Linked DNA regions of Homo sapiens: region 2 is linked to region 1. Evidence: promoter capture Hi-C in 16 types of primary human blood cells and fetal thymus (Javierre and others, 2016). All regions are on one chromosome and are shown on one strand. Each heading gives the region's core, a stretch centred on a gene start or on the middle of the fragment in contact. The rest is flanking DNA. Distances are from core to core; before and after follow the strand shown. Region 1 holds the start of NUBPL (NUBP iron-sulfur cluster assembly factor, mitochondrial). Region 2 overlaps G2E3-AS1 (G2E3 antisense RNA 1).

Evidence for each region. The method cuts DNA at HindIII sites, captures the fragments that hold promoters and counts their contacts. A CHiCAGO score of 5 or more calls a contact.
Region 2: a contact is called between a fragment that was not itself captured here and the fragment with the promoter of NUBPL in region 1, in 1 of 17 cell types (activated CD4 T cells). The highest score is 5.4, in activated CD4 T cells.

The regions. Positions count from the first base shown.
Region 1 is chr14:31,555,488-31,562,653 of GRCh38, forward strand. It overlaps NUBPL (NUBP iron-sulfur cluster assembly factor, mitochondrial), which reads left to right and starts at 5,917. Exons shown (of 11, transcript NM_025152.3): 1 at 5,917-6,060; 2 at 6,581-6,728. The coding sequence starts at 5,953. It overlaps NUBPL-DT (NUBPL divergent transcript), which reads right to left and starts at 5,844. Exons shown (of 3, transcript XR_943720.2): 1 at 5,624-5,844. LOC105370438 (a long non-coding RNA gene) reads left to right here. Exons shown (of 4, transcript XR_943723.3): 4 at 2,338-2,609. RefSeq lists enhancers at 5,760-6,159, 6,086-6,641. The HindIII fragment of the contact is 6,263 bases long and covers 5,130-7,166 here.
Region 2 is chr14:30,548,670-30,556,169 of GRCh38, forward strand. The region is part of intron 3 of G2E3-AS1 (G2E3 antisense RNA 1); the gene reads right to left. Among named protein-coding and RNA genes, the nearest start is that of G2E3, 6.7 kb to the right of the region's middle. The HindIII fragment of the contact is 2,270 bases long and covers 1,562-3,831 here.

The DNA.
Region 1 (7,166 bases), core at 4,667-7,166:
TTGGTACTGGAGAAAATGAAAAAGCAAAAACATGGGAATTCTGGGGTTCCGTGCCTCGCAAATATTTGTCTTGGGTGACAAATTTTTTTCCAAATTCTGATTGTGTGGCTCCTGTTTCAGGATGGGCTCTTTGAAGCTTTAAACATTAATCAGAGACTATATTCAGGTATAAAGCAAGCCTGTGACCTTTGTCCAAGGATTCAGTTCAGTCTTGTAAATCAGAAATTCAAATGTCAAATCATTCATGATTTATTCAGCTTTGGATATGGGCATTTAGAAACACATGCTGTCAAAGTATAGAGGTGTATTTTTAGTCATTTGAGGCATATTCTCTGAAGTCTATCCCATCTACAAAGATACATACATTTCCTTTATGTAATTTTAAATTATAAGAATGGGGAACGTCTTTGACAGGACTAGTTTATGCCAGTTAAGATGCTGAAAGGCCAGCAAAGTCTTTGATAGGGGAAAGGCCATGAATTTCTAGATCACATTTCATATTGAGAGAGTGGCTCATTGTGGGAGCTATTCACTTAAACAGATTTATTCTATATTTCAATGTGCAAATTAGTATTCAATGTAGCTAAGAGACAGTTTCATGCTTGGAGCCATGAACAGGGAGGTTTGAAAACAAATCACAGTGTGAGGCAAAGTAGGGTCAATTAAGGGGGTTGCCATTTAGACAAGTCCCATAGATGGGATAAGGTTTTCTTTTTGGTGAGCCTTTGGACAGGATGAGAAGGTCAGTTGTGGACAGTAACCTCAAACTAAAGGAACTGAAATAAGTTTCTGAGCTTTATTCAGTATATTCAACAGAGACAAACTGTCCAAGATACCCTATTCTTCCTTAGTGAGTTGAGCAAGGGAGTGGATCACACGTTCTCAGCTGACATTGACACAGCCTGAGGCCTATGGAAAGGGAATGAGGTAGTCTTCTTATCTGTGAGGGAATCTGAAACTTCAGTGAGTCCTTAGTCACCTAAGAAGGGTTGTCTTTTGGGAGGAACGAGGGCAACCTTACAGGTATAAATCCTTCCTTTTTAGAAAACAATACAAGGTATTACTCTACACATAATTAGGAGATATTCAAAAGAATCTTCTTTATTTTGATCAGTATTTATTTATTTATTTATAAATTTCTGTCAGGGTGGGGGAAAATCTTGTTCAATACAGATTCCACCAGGATTGTAGCTAAGTCACAGACAGCCTATGCAGTGTCCAGATATCCACATGCTGAGGTGAACTTCATCTTCAAGGTATTTATCTATGCATACCAGCATCCATGGAGATGCTAATAACTAACCATGCAGATTGTTGCCAAATGTTCCCTAATTCTTGACCTTAAGGACTCTTTAGGATCAGCATTCTCTTAGCCACTTTGTGGCTCACTCAGATCTATCTATCTGCCTAAACATAACACTCAACCATTCTTATTCTGTGGTTCTGCCACTGCACTGAGCTCCACCTGGTAATGGGGACATTGATTCTGTTGTTTTCACATCCCCCAAGCTGATTTGGGGTTCTGTTGTCCCCCCTCCCCACTAGAGATTAATCTTGGGTGAACAGGAGAGAGGTAGTCTCAGAGTATGGGAGTCCTTCTTATTCGCTGTAACAGGCACAGATTATTGTAGCTCAAATAACAGAAATCCTAGCCAACAGTGGCTTAAATATCTCACATAACCAGAGGTCTGGAAATGCAGACCAGGACTGGTATAGCAGCTTAGTTATACTGCCAAGAATTCATCTTCTTGCCATATTTCCTCTTTGTCTTCCTCAGCTTTTGGCTTCTATTATTGTGGTTGTCATTATTGTGCTTTTCATGTTCACAAGATGACTGCCACATCTCCATGTCACATCCATGGTCAAGGTGGGAAAAAGGAGTTAGCACCAACTACGTTCCACTCAATCAGAAAAGCAAAAGCTTTCTCAGAAACTTCCCAGAAAAATTTCCCTTTACCACATTGGGTTAGCCAATTACAAATGACTGGTACAAGAACCCATGGATATTTAAGTTCTCAGTTTTCTTCAGATTCTCTTCATCCCTCATAATCCCAGGAAACTTGTTATAGTCTGTCTAGGACAGATACTAACTTGGCTCATTGACTACCCACTTCCAGTCACATTCTCCATTGCTTTCCTCTACTCTACAGGTTAGAGAGCTCTAAATGCTTAATTTCTCAGTTTCTCTTGGTTCTAAGGATGGTCATGTGACCCGGTTCTAGCCAGTCGGGTGTGTGTGTGTGTGTGTGTGTGTGTCTTCCTTTCCTGAATAAAAAAGGCAAAGGCTCACTAGGAAATTCTCTTTGTCATTCCCTCCTCTTCCTATATGGAACATAGCTTTGATGCCTGAAGGTACAACAAACATCTCATGACTATGAGGGGATGAAAATGGATACCAAGGATACCAAGATGATGGAACAAAAAGAATTGATTTGGAACATGACGGCACTATGGATTCATCGTATTGGACCTCTGTGATATAATTCTGAACTTTTCATATAAGACTAATATACCCCTACTTGTTTAATACAACTGTAGAGTTATCTGCTACTTGCAGCCAAATGTAATCCTAACTAATATAGGCAATAAATCATGTTTTTATATCACTATGTAGGTCTTCCAATCTATTGTCTTTGCCAGAGCTGTCTCCATTCTTCTAAAAGGTCCCAACTTCCAAAATTCAAAACCAAGAAAACAACCTCTTTTCTCTGACATTTTTATTGGGTCAGACATTTTGCTGTGTCAGAAAATGATTCCATATAATTTGTCCAAATGGGGAAGGGCTATGCGAGATACAAGGAATTATAGGGAGAAAATTATTGACACATATTTAAAAATATATCTCAGCATAGTTACAAATACACAGAAACCCATCCAAATTAGACTAAGACAGTAAATTTATTGGGTGGATGTAAGTATATCTTATGGACCTAAGGATAGGAAGTCCGGTTGAACCTCATTATGAACTGGAACCAGGAACTGAAAAGTTATGAACCAGTGCAGCTCTTCTCCCTTTCCTCTATGGTAACATGATCTCTTATGATCTACTTTCTTCTTCTCTCTTGCATTGGCTTTATCTGCTTCTGCATGCACATAGTAGAAAATAGTAATTTCAACTGTATTAGCTCAAAGACAAACTAAGATTGACTAACACCTGTTACTTTTATTTTCCAGGCTCTCTGGAGAATTAATCTGATTGGTCAATTTTTTGGTTGTACATCAGTCTTTAGTCCAATTAGTGACCTTGGGAATGGGGTCAAATGACTTAGCAATTCTTAGGACCAAAGGAGAATACCCTTTTGAAAAGAGGCCATGGATATGTATATGTGTGTCAGTGTTTTTTGGAGAAGAAACATCTCTACTACTCTCCTAAAATTTTAATTTGGGGAAAGGTAAACCAAAGTAATGATTCAGCCATTCTACAAACATTATTCTCACTTGCTCCTCCTCTTATGTTTTCTCTCAGGGAATTCATCTAGTTGCTCATGTCATAAACCTCTACACAACCAATGATTACCACAATAGCTAACAATTACTAACTCTGTGACAGCTGTTCTACATGCATTATCTTAAGTTCAACCTCACAACAACCATAGAAGTAGGAATTAACTATTTTATTGATAACAAAGTGAAATTTAGAGATGTTAAGTCAAGCCTTCAAGAGAGAGACCTCATGTCTCCTTGTCTCTGATCTTGCCCCGCTGATCCATTTCTTTTTTAACCCAGTAATCATAGTGGTATTTCTAAAACACAAATCTGATGTTACTTTCCTGCTTAAAATCCTTCTATAGTTCCCTTAGGATAAAGTCCAAATTTCTTTACAAGATATATACAGCCTTTCTTGATTTAGGCAACCTCCATCTAACCAACCTTCACTCCATCCTCATCTCTTTTAGTCACTTTGTCCTAAGTTGCACAGATCATTTACAGTTCTTAACAATCCAGAAAAGAAATGTATTTTCTACTCCTCTTGTGTTCTCTCTTCTTTTCTCTCTTCTTTCTTTTTTTATTTTTATTTTTGATATCTTTTTTATTTTTTTATTTTTATTTTTTAGTATTTATTGATCATTCTTGGGTATTTCTCGGAGCGGGGGATTTGGCAGGGTCATAGGACAATAGTGGAGGGAAGGTCAGCAGATAAACATGTGAACAAGGGTCTCTGGTTTTCCTAGGCAGAGGACCCTGCGGCCTTCCGCAGTGTTTGTGTCCCTGGGTACTTGAGATTAGGGAGTGGTGATGACTCTTAACGAGCATGCTGCCTTCAAGCATCTGTTTAACAAAGCACATCTTGCACCGCCCTTAATCCATTTAACCCTGAGTGGACACAGCACATGTTTCAGAGAGCACGGGGTTGGGGGTAAGGTTATAGATTAACAGCATCCCAAGGCAGAATAATTTTTCTTAGTACAGAACAAAATGGAGTCTCCTATGTCTACTTCTTTCTACACAGACACAGTAACAATCTGATCTCTCTTTCCTTTCCCCACATTTCCCCCTTTTCTATTCGACAAAACCGCCATCGTCATCATGGCCCGTTCTCAATGAGCTGTTGGGTACACCTCCTAGACAGGGTGGCGGCTGGGCAGAGGGGCCCCTCACTTCCCAGACGGGGTGGCCGGGCAGAGGTGACTCCACCTCCCGGACGGGGTGGCGGCCGGGCGGGGTCTGCCCCCCACCTCCCTCCGGGACGGGGCGGCTGACCGGATGGGGGCTGCCCCCCACGTCCCTCCCGGACGGGGCAGCTGGCCGGGCGGGGGCTTTTCTCTCTTCTTTCATCTTTCTTCCTTCTACTCTCTTCTTCTTTCTTCTTCCTTCTTCTTTCTTCTCCTTTTAATTTCCTCTTCCTCCTTCCTCCTTCCTTCTTTCTTCTTCTTCTGACAAGGTGTCACTCTGCTGCCCACGCTGGAGTGCAGTGGTGCAATCATAGCTCACTGCATCCTTGAACTCCTGGCTCAAGCAATCCTCTTGCTTTGGCCTCCCAAAGTGTTGGAATTACACGCGTGAGCCACCATGCCTAGCCTTAGCAGTCCATTTCTAACCTCTTTACAACAATCTCCTTGCCATTCTCCCAGCTAACTTCTACACATTATTCAGATTCAGCATTCAGCTTAGATATTACCTAATTTAGAAGCTTCCCCTGATTGAATTGAGTGCCCTTTCTTTGTATCACTTTGTCCTTTCTCCTGTATCCCTCAATGCTTTTCTCCTGTACTTATCATATTATACCGCAATTTTGTTGTTAACTTATTCTGTCTTTTGCACTGGATTATAAAGCCCTTTAGTGGAGGAATTATGTCGGTCTCAATGCTGAATATTTTAAGTCTACTGTAGTACTCGGTACATAGTAGTTGCTCAACGAATATTTGTTAAATAAATGAGTCTTAAGTCTGGAAGAACTTGCAAAGTTCTTTACCAGGTTGCTGGTAAAGCAACCTGACCTTTCTTTCAGGGAACTGTCAGCAACACAAGCCATGAATACCAACGCAAAACAGACTCTCACTGTAGATCACACGGGAAAAAATAAAATAAAAAGGTAAAATCCTTAACGGTGGTAGTATTTAAATGACCATATACTGCTTAGTAAGAAATCCTGGGGTCATTTTCAAGGTCCCCCATTTCCTACTTTTGTTAAGCTGGGTCAAGTCTCTTTAAACTTTCTCCGTTTTCTTGTCCATAAAAAGAGTATACTAGGTAAGTCTTCTGTCTACCTCGGGACTTCTGTAAGTATCATAAGAGATGTTTTATATGACAACACTTCACAAACGTTTAGTAAAACGCTGCAAAATGTTTGTAGCTGGCTATAAACAAGATCATGCAGATTGGGTTCCTGAGCCAACAAACCCAAAGAAGACCGGTTGCTAGGAAGAGAAAGCCGAGCGTTGCTCCGTGACGTCATCACTCCGCGCCACCCGCGACAGTTTCCCAGCAGGGCTCACAGCAGCGTTCCGCGTCATGGGGATTTGGCAGCGTCTGCTGCTTTTTGGTGGGGTGTCGCTCCGGGCTGGTGGCGGGGCCACTGCCCCGCTTGGGGGAAGCCGAGCGATGGTTTGTGGGCGCCAGGTCCGTGGTGCTGCAGGGCAGGGGGAAGCGGGCTGACAGATGCTGGGCTGCAGGGCCGCAGATGCCCTGGCATTGCTTCTTGCCAAAGACTCGCCTCAGTTCCTGAGACCCCCAGTGTGCTGGACGTGCCTACTTTTCAGGCAGGCCCAGGCTGAGGCGTGGCGGGACTTGAAACACAGTTAGAACGTAGATGTGGTATTCTACATTGCTTTCTTGGCTTTGGGTTATTTATCAAATAGATTGAAGAAAAGCAAAACACGTGGAAGCCTTATCTCCGTAAAGAGGCAGCGTTTTTACATTTTTAAACGTTCAGCGTATCCTGCTAGAAAAATTTCAATTTAAGCAATGTGTCTTTACAATTGTTATCAGTAGTAGTAGGTAAATGTCTCCATAGTGAAGATGAGCAGAATTAGAAAAGAAAGCCCTCTTAATTGCAAACCCCAGATTGTTTTTGCTTTTACAGTGTGATGATGGAGATGGCTTATTTAAAACGGCTTTTTATTATTATTATTTTTTAAAGTTGTCTGGCGCCGGGAGTGAGACCCTAAAACAAAGAAGAACACAAATCATGTCCCGAGGACTTCCAAAGCAGAAACCGATAGAAGGTGTTAAACAAGTTATAGTTGTGGCTTCTGGAAAGGGTGGAGTCGGAAAATCTACTACAGCAGGTATTATAGGATATTAATTCTATTCCTGATTAAGAACTTATGCCAACAGACAAGTGCACACTATTGAAATTATAGTTTTGTGTTTTAAAAATTTATTTGTGAAGTTCCTAACATGTGATTCCTTAGTTTCAGGAGTTGGTAGCGGGTAGACGCTTAGATTTTGGAGTTAGACAAAAGTAGGTACTAGCCGGGTCTCCCACCCCTTAACTCAGGAAAAAGTGGTCAGATTGTACAGCAAATCTTCAGTTCACTTAACTGTAAAATGGAGATAACTTCTTTCATAAGATGGTTATTCAAATTGCACAAGCTAACCACTTAGCTTAGTGTTTACTAGTGTTCAATAATTGGTTGCTGTTATTTTTAAAACATCTAGTAACTTTTTTTTTTTGTTTTTTTTTTTTTTTTTGAGACGGAATCTCGCTCTGTCACCCAGGCTGT
Region 2 (7,500 bases), core at 1,447-3,946, 1.0 Mb before region 1:
CATCCAGTCTTTTTCAAAGATAGTTTATTGTTTTTTTCCTTTTGAAAAGACCATACTTTCCTGTTTCTTTGTATGCTTTGTGATTTTTTTGTTGTTGTTGAAAACTGTATATTTGCATCTAATAATGTCGTACCTTTGGAAATCAGGTTCTCTCCCTTCCCTAGGTTTTGCTGGTGTTTTGGGTTTTATTATTATTTTTGTTGCTGTTATTGTTATAGGTTGTGTCTGTGCTGAGGATCAGCCTGAGGTTTAAACTTAAGGCCTTCTCTGGTCTTTGCTGAGCCTGCACCTTCACCTGGGCGTGTGTGGTGACTTTCTAGTTTTCCTTACATATGCAGTTGCTTTTGAATGTCCTAGTCTTCAATGTCTTACTTCCATAAGGGGAGACAGAGAAAAATAACAGGAGAGAAAAGGCTCTGCCTCTTTAAATCTCCTGGATATTACTTTAGCCAGAGGAGTGGGAGGGTTTGCAACAATGGGGGTTAGTGCAACCGTAATGACCACCACCTCTTTTTCTATACCTCTGTGATCAGATGCAGCAATCAATGATCACAGCACAGATCCCCAATATTTTTAGGACATGGTCCTTTTTGCCTGTTCTGGTTCCTGCAAGCTGTGTGCAAGCTGCTCCAGAAACATATTCACAGCTGCCCACTATTGGGCTGAAGGGTGGGACTGTTATTTAAAATAACGTTATGAAACTACATGCTAACATAAATATTTGTGTTTTCTAAAACAAAAATAATTTAGTGAGAAGAATGGCATTGTTTTACCTTTATATAAATCTCTCTGGTGGATAATTTAATATAAAATCACTGGATTGGCTGGGCACAGTGGCTCATGCCTGTAATCCCAGCACTTTGAGAGGTCAAGGCAGGCAGATCACAAGGTCAGGAGATCGAGACCATCCTGGCTAACACGGTGAAACCCTGTCTCTACTAAAAATACAAAAAAATTAGCGGGGTGTGGTGGTGGGTGCCTGTAGTCCCAACTACCAGGGAGGCTGAGGCAGGAGAATCACTGAAACCCGGGAGGCGGAGGTTGCAGTGAGCTCAGATCACGCTGCCGCACTCCAGCCTGGGTGGCAGAGTGAGACTCCATTTCAAAAAAAAAAGAAGAAAAGAAAAAGAAAATCACTGGATTTTCATATCAGTTTCTGCATTCAGTCTGTTGCAATATCACACCCCATGCAGCCTCTGGAAAACTCTATTGTACACTTGTGAGAGAATATAAGTGAAAAGGCAAACGGTCTTAGTATTATTTTGAAGATAGTTTGACCTCATGAACCACATTTTGAAAATTGTTGATCTAATTCATCCTTCAGTCTAGTACTAAAAAGTCGTCTCTGTACTAATATTAACAAAGCTTCTACCTAATACTAGATGATATCTGAGGTTCTTTATTAAACTAACGTCCTACAGTTCTATAGATGAACAAGCAAATTTCTCACAAAAAAAAACTTTGCTATTAGCTAATTGTTTTAGATTAATATTAGGTTTCTTATCACTGCTCCTATCTCTGCTGGGTGTGTGAATTGAAATATTGTAATGGAAAATGAACAAGCTTTGTGTCCAACCAAACAAGCTATAGTTAAAATACCAGTTCTGCCTACTGTGGCCTTGGACAAATTATTTAATCTTATTAAGCCCTAGTTTCATCACCTACTTTGTCAAGATTAAGTAAATCAACATTTAGTTTTAGCACAGTGTTTTGAATGTAGAAAGCATTAAACAAATGTTAGTTCCTTTTATGTTTTTCCAATCATATACCTTTTATTAGTTAACCTCACCTACAGGAAGACTCATTGCCCCATTATGACCACTGTGGGAAGGCTAAAGTTTAATATCTATTACTGTACAATACCTAAGAAGTGAGTCAACTTGGAGATACTAGACTTGCAAACCCAAACAATTTAAAAAATTGTACAGGGGTTAAATAGCAAACATTACATCAAACTGCCCTGAAATTCTCACTATTTCAGCTACAAATATGACCTATTAGAGCTAGTTTATTAGCTCTTTCTATAAACATGGATTAACTCAAATCACTACCAAGGTGGAAAGTAGACAGCAGGTCACTAAGGAATGTATCATATGTTCTGAAGGGCAGAGAAAAGGAATATGAGGCTAAGATCCACCTGGGAGGAGAGTTCCTTTGTGCCTTTCAGTGGCTCACAAGCCTAAGGATACTGGGCATGGAATGCCAGATGCCATTGAAAGGAGAAGGAAGGGGATGTTAACTGTATGTCTTACCCATTTGCCTAATTATAATTACCATTAAATGTCCTCTCACTTAGAGCTCACAAGAAACCTGTCAGGTAGTTATTATTTACATCTGATTAATGTGTAGTGAAGCTCAAAGGATTGGGTACTTCATACTTAGCTAGTAAGTAAAACGGCTAGTATTTAAACCTCAGCCTGTTTTGCTTTCAGGTTCGCCTCTTAACATTGCACTACTTACTATCCTTGAAAAATGTTTCCTAAAGAATGGCCCTAAGTGTTGAAGCTAAACTTTGAGCAAGTGCCTGCTTCCTAAGTGATGATTCTGTGCCCTAGACCTTTGTGAGAATTTGAAGTTTTCTTTCACCCCCAACAAAACACTCAGGTAAGGATTGGGCTTATTATAACTGAGTCACTTTATCAATTCAGTTGCGGAGTCATTTTCCGCAAGTATTCTGGGAGGGATTAAAAAATCAAAGTACACAAACTGAAAACAGTTTTGATTGCCAGCAATTGTATCCAAGAATGTTAAAGATTCAGTTCAAGCATGTTGTTCATTACTTGATTTATTCTGGGTGGCATTACCAATGTGTGTTCCTGCATTTGGAGTTACTCTTAACTGTAAAGAGGCTCTGATTTCTATGTAAACACTTCAGGCCAAAAGACAGCAATTTTAAAAAGCAATCCAGACAATCATTTGTTTGAAACACCAACTTAGAGAGGAGTAATGTTAACATAAACATACCACATCTTTGACCTATATTAAAACACATGTCTCATATTGGCTACAAGCAAACTTTGAGTCCTTTGTAAAATCCATACAGTTACCCAGCAGGCATGATGTCAATCCAAATCACTGTGGTTACTGTATAGCTACTTATTATCCAAACAACCCTGAAACAAAAGACCTGAAATTCGCTGTTTTGGATGCTGCTTCCTGCTGCCAGGAGGAGGTGTGTTTAACTTACAAGAGACTGAACAGCAGTTAGATGAACACTTTAGATCAAAAGATCCAAGTAAATAGACAATGAAGAAAAGACTTCTGTTTGATAGCAGACAACATACTTTCCCAAAAATGTATCTTAATTCAAGTTCAAAAATTGATATAAAAAGACTGGTCACGCAAATGAATGTAAGAAACATATTAGTAAACACATGAATGAAACTGTGCTCCAAAGAGTTAAAGAAACCAATAACTAACAGACATTCTTGAATTTGAAGGTTAGTCAATAATAAAAGGAAACAACTTGCCGAAAAGCTGAAACTCCCTCTACTTGAGGGATTTTAAAAAACTGGATGAAACAATGAACTGAACTGTTGGAAACAATGTGGCCAACTGGAGTTTGCGCAGAGCAAATTTGTTGATGTCACAGCCTGAATTTCTACCACATTTCATATTAAGTCCCCCTAAATTTGCACCTGTGACCCATGAGGAGGCACAAAGGGATAACTGGGCGTGCCTGAGGACTTTCCAGACCTCCCCTTTTCTTCCACCAATCACCTACTAGTCTCAGAATCACCCCCTAAACCTTTTCTAATAAAAGTAAAGCCAACACAGAGAGACGGCTTTGAGCTGGACTCCTGTCTTCTTGTGAGTTGACATATAACAAAAAGCTTTTCTTTTCCCAACAGCCCAGAGTCATTGTATATTGGCTTTTAGTGCATCAGGCATCAAGCCCTTTCTGCTTGAGAAAATGAATACAACTCCATTCAGAAACATATTAGCACTGCTGACAGCATAGCAGAAGCTTGGCAAATTATTATTAATCATGGAGTCATACACTAATAATGGTCATGTACTTATTTCGTATGATATTATCATTATGTCTTCAACACAAGAGATGATCAACAATATGGGCTATGGCTGGGGGCAGTGGTTCACACCCGTAATCTCAGCACTTTTGAAGGCTGAGGCAGGAGGATCACTTGAACCCAGGAGTTCAAGACCAGCCTGGGCAAAATAGCGAGATTCCCCCATCTCTACAAAAATTAAAAAAAAAAAAAATTAGCTGGGCATAGCAGTGCGTGCCTGTGGCCCCAGCTACTTGAAAAGCTGAAATGAGAGGATCACTTGAGCCCAGGTGGTTGAGACTGCAGTGAGCCATGATCATATCCCTGCACTTGCAACCTGAGTGACAGAACATGATCCTGTCTCAACAATTAATAGTAATAATAATGATAATATAGGCTAATTTATTTTGGAATCATGGGATGAAAATTTTGTAGCATTAATGCCATAATTAGAAATACTAAGTATATTCCAAAGTATTCAAATATTGCTGAGAATCATAGAGGAAGCCTAAGTAACAGATAAGGACAGTGAGCACAGAGAGGGGAAGAAGAAAAAAAGACCATTAAAGGAGGAAGTAAAAAACAAACCTGAGGTAAATACGGGAGCAGTAACAAGATCATGAGTACAGTAGGAATGATTAAGATATAAAGTCACCTGGAGAGAAGAGAATTACCTCTATTTCATGCTTTTACATTCTTGTTAGAGGTTAGTGAAGTAGAAGTTTGGGAATAGAGTCCTACAGTGGCCTGTATTCTGAGTAGCTGATTGTGACATATTTTATGTGAGCCACATAAAATGCAGGTGTGAGCCACTGCACCCGGCCTCAAAGTACACTTCTTATAGTATGACTCTATTAGGGCTCTGAGTCACAGAAAACTTAATTAAAAACTTTCATTCTAAGATCTCAGGGATGGTCTCTAATCAAGGCAACAGATAAGTGAGGGGTTATCAGATACCAGGCAGAATATTAATCGGTATTGCTGAGGAGACAGGCTAGAGAGAAAGCTAGAAATTTATCCTCAAGGTGGAAGATAAAAGAAAAGTGAACAGACATTCAGGGATGGATCTGCCTTAAGTATGAGTCAAGTATTTGCTTCAAATGTGGGTAGTGGCTGAGGGTAAAACAAAAATCTGATTCATCTGAAAGGCAGGAAGGGTTACCAGAAGTTCAATATGGCTAACACAGAGGAGGAATGAGTTCCTGTAAAGGACAATTTAGTCCAAAAGTGTATACTAATTCTAGTGGGCGCTAATTTAAGAATGAGTGCCAGGTTTATCAGCTTTACAGTATAAGATAGCATTGTTATTTCTCTAATTAAAGAATACCATACCTTCTTATTTGCATGTCTTTGGGGGTTCAATAGCCCTAACTCTGGAGGCAATGGTTTAGGGGGCAAAGCAACACAACTTTGGATGGCCTCCTAACAGGATGGATGTACCCTAACTCATTCAATTATCTTCCTCTTTATAGTTGTTTCCAGTTAGCAGCCACTGTAAGTAGTGCTTCAAAAAGCACTAGCATGCTTATTTCTATAGGAGAATCCCAAAGTTGAGAAAAGCCTGAGTTACTTTCCAAGAGCTGTAGCAATGTATGCTCCTGTGGATAAGAGTGTACATTTGGCCGGGCGCAGTGGCTCACGCCTGTAATCCTAGCACTTTGGGAGGCCGAGGCGGGCAGATTACGAGGTCAGGAGTTCAAGACCAGCCTGACCAACATGGGGAAACCTCCATCTCTACTAGAAAAATACAAAAATTAGCCTGGCATGGTGGCACATGCCTGTAATCCCAGCTACTCAGGAGGCTGAGGCAGGAGAATTGCTTAAATCTGGGAGGTGGAGGTTGCAGTGATACGCCACTGCACTCCAGCTATATGGAAGATATAAAGTTAGGCCTGTACCTTTTATCATATACCAAATGCAAGCTCCAAGATCGCGCCACTGCACTCCAGCCTGGGTGACAGAGCAAGACTCTGTCTCAAAAAAAAAAAAAAAAAAAGAGTGTACATTTTACCACCACACTCTCCCAGTGTGGGATATTGTGAATTGTTTTAATTTTTGCTAATCCAATAAACTTGGTATTTGGTTGGTTGATTTGTATTCCCAAAAGTGAGGTAGTACAGTTGAGTATTTTCTGTGTCTTGTCCTCTTTCATTTCCTTTTCAATGAATTACTTGTTCATTTCTTCTGCCCATTTTTATTGCTTTTTGAAAAAAATTATAAAAGTTTTTACATTAGAATTGTTAACCTAGTGTCCTATGTTTTATAAATATTTTATCATTGTCCCTCATTTATCTTTCAATGTGTCATGGTGACTTTTGCTGTTCAAATATTTTAAACTTTAACATAATGAAACATACTCATCTTTTATTTTATGGTTTCTAGGATTCCGGTCTTGCTCTGTCACCCAGGCTGGAGTGCAGTGGTGCAACAGCTCACTGCAACCTCCAACTCTTGGGCTCAAGGGATCCTCCCACCTCAGCCTCCTGAGTAGCTGGGACTACAGGTGCACACCACCACACCCAGCTAAATTTTTTAAAAAATTGTTTTTCGTAGAGCCAGCAGTCTCACTATGTTGCCCAGGCTGGTCTCAAACTCCTGGCTTGAAGTGCTCTTCCCGCCTTGGCTTTCTCAAAGTGCGAGGATTACAGGCAAGAGCTACTGCACCTGGCCCTGCCTTGTTTGAGAAGTCTCTTCTACCCTAAAGTCACAGTTACCGTTCTAAACTTCTCCCCAATATACTTTTGTTTTATTTTTTAAAATTTCAATCTTTAATGTTTCTAGAATTTATTTTGGTATATGATAAAAGGTACAGGCCTAACTTTATATCTTCCATATAGCTGGCCAGTTATTTCCAGTTCTTGTTAATTTATGAATGAACCCATCCTTTTCCTGAAAAGGAAATATCACCTTTATAATATATTAATATTCTCTATATAGTTTCATTTTTCTGGATTCTCTTTTTCTTTTTTGTGCTAATACTATATTTTTTGTCTGATTTTTTTTTTTGGCTACTCTTTGTAGCAGCTTTGTGGTAAGTTTTTACTCTCTAGTAAGACAAATTGTCTACTCCTGACCTCTGTTTTCTTTTTCTAATATGTCTTAACAATTCTTACATATTAATTTTCCTATATGAACATTGAAATCACTTATGTTCTCAAATTATATTTTAAAGTAGCAGGTTCTATATCTTTCTTTAAAGAAAATTTCTTTAAAACTGTATTTAAAATTTAAAAATTATTTTAAATTAAATTGAATTCTAATTTGATTTTGTGAATTTTCTTTAAAATTTATTTCTACGCATTTTATCATTTCTGTTACTCATGTTGGTTGTGGTAAAAACCTTTTAGAGTAGATTATAGGAATTCTTCTGCCAAAGCAGTTTATGTTGTTTCTTCCATGTAAAATTGATGACCCTTGGTCCCAGGAGTGTTTTTGTTTTGTTTTCTGCTGTATGTGGATTGAATAGGAAGAGGAAAGCAGGAAAGAGAGG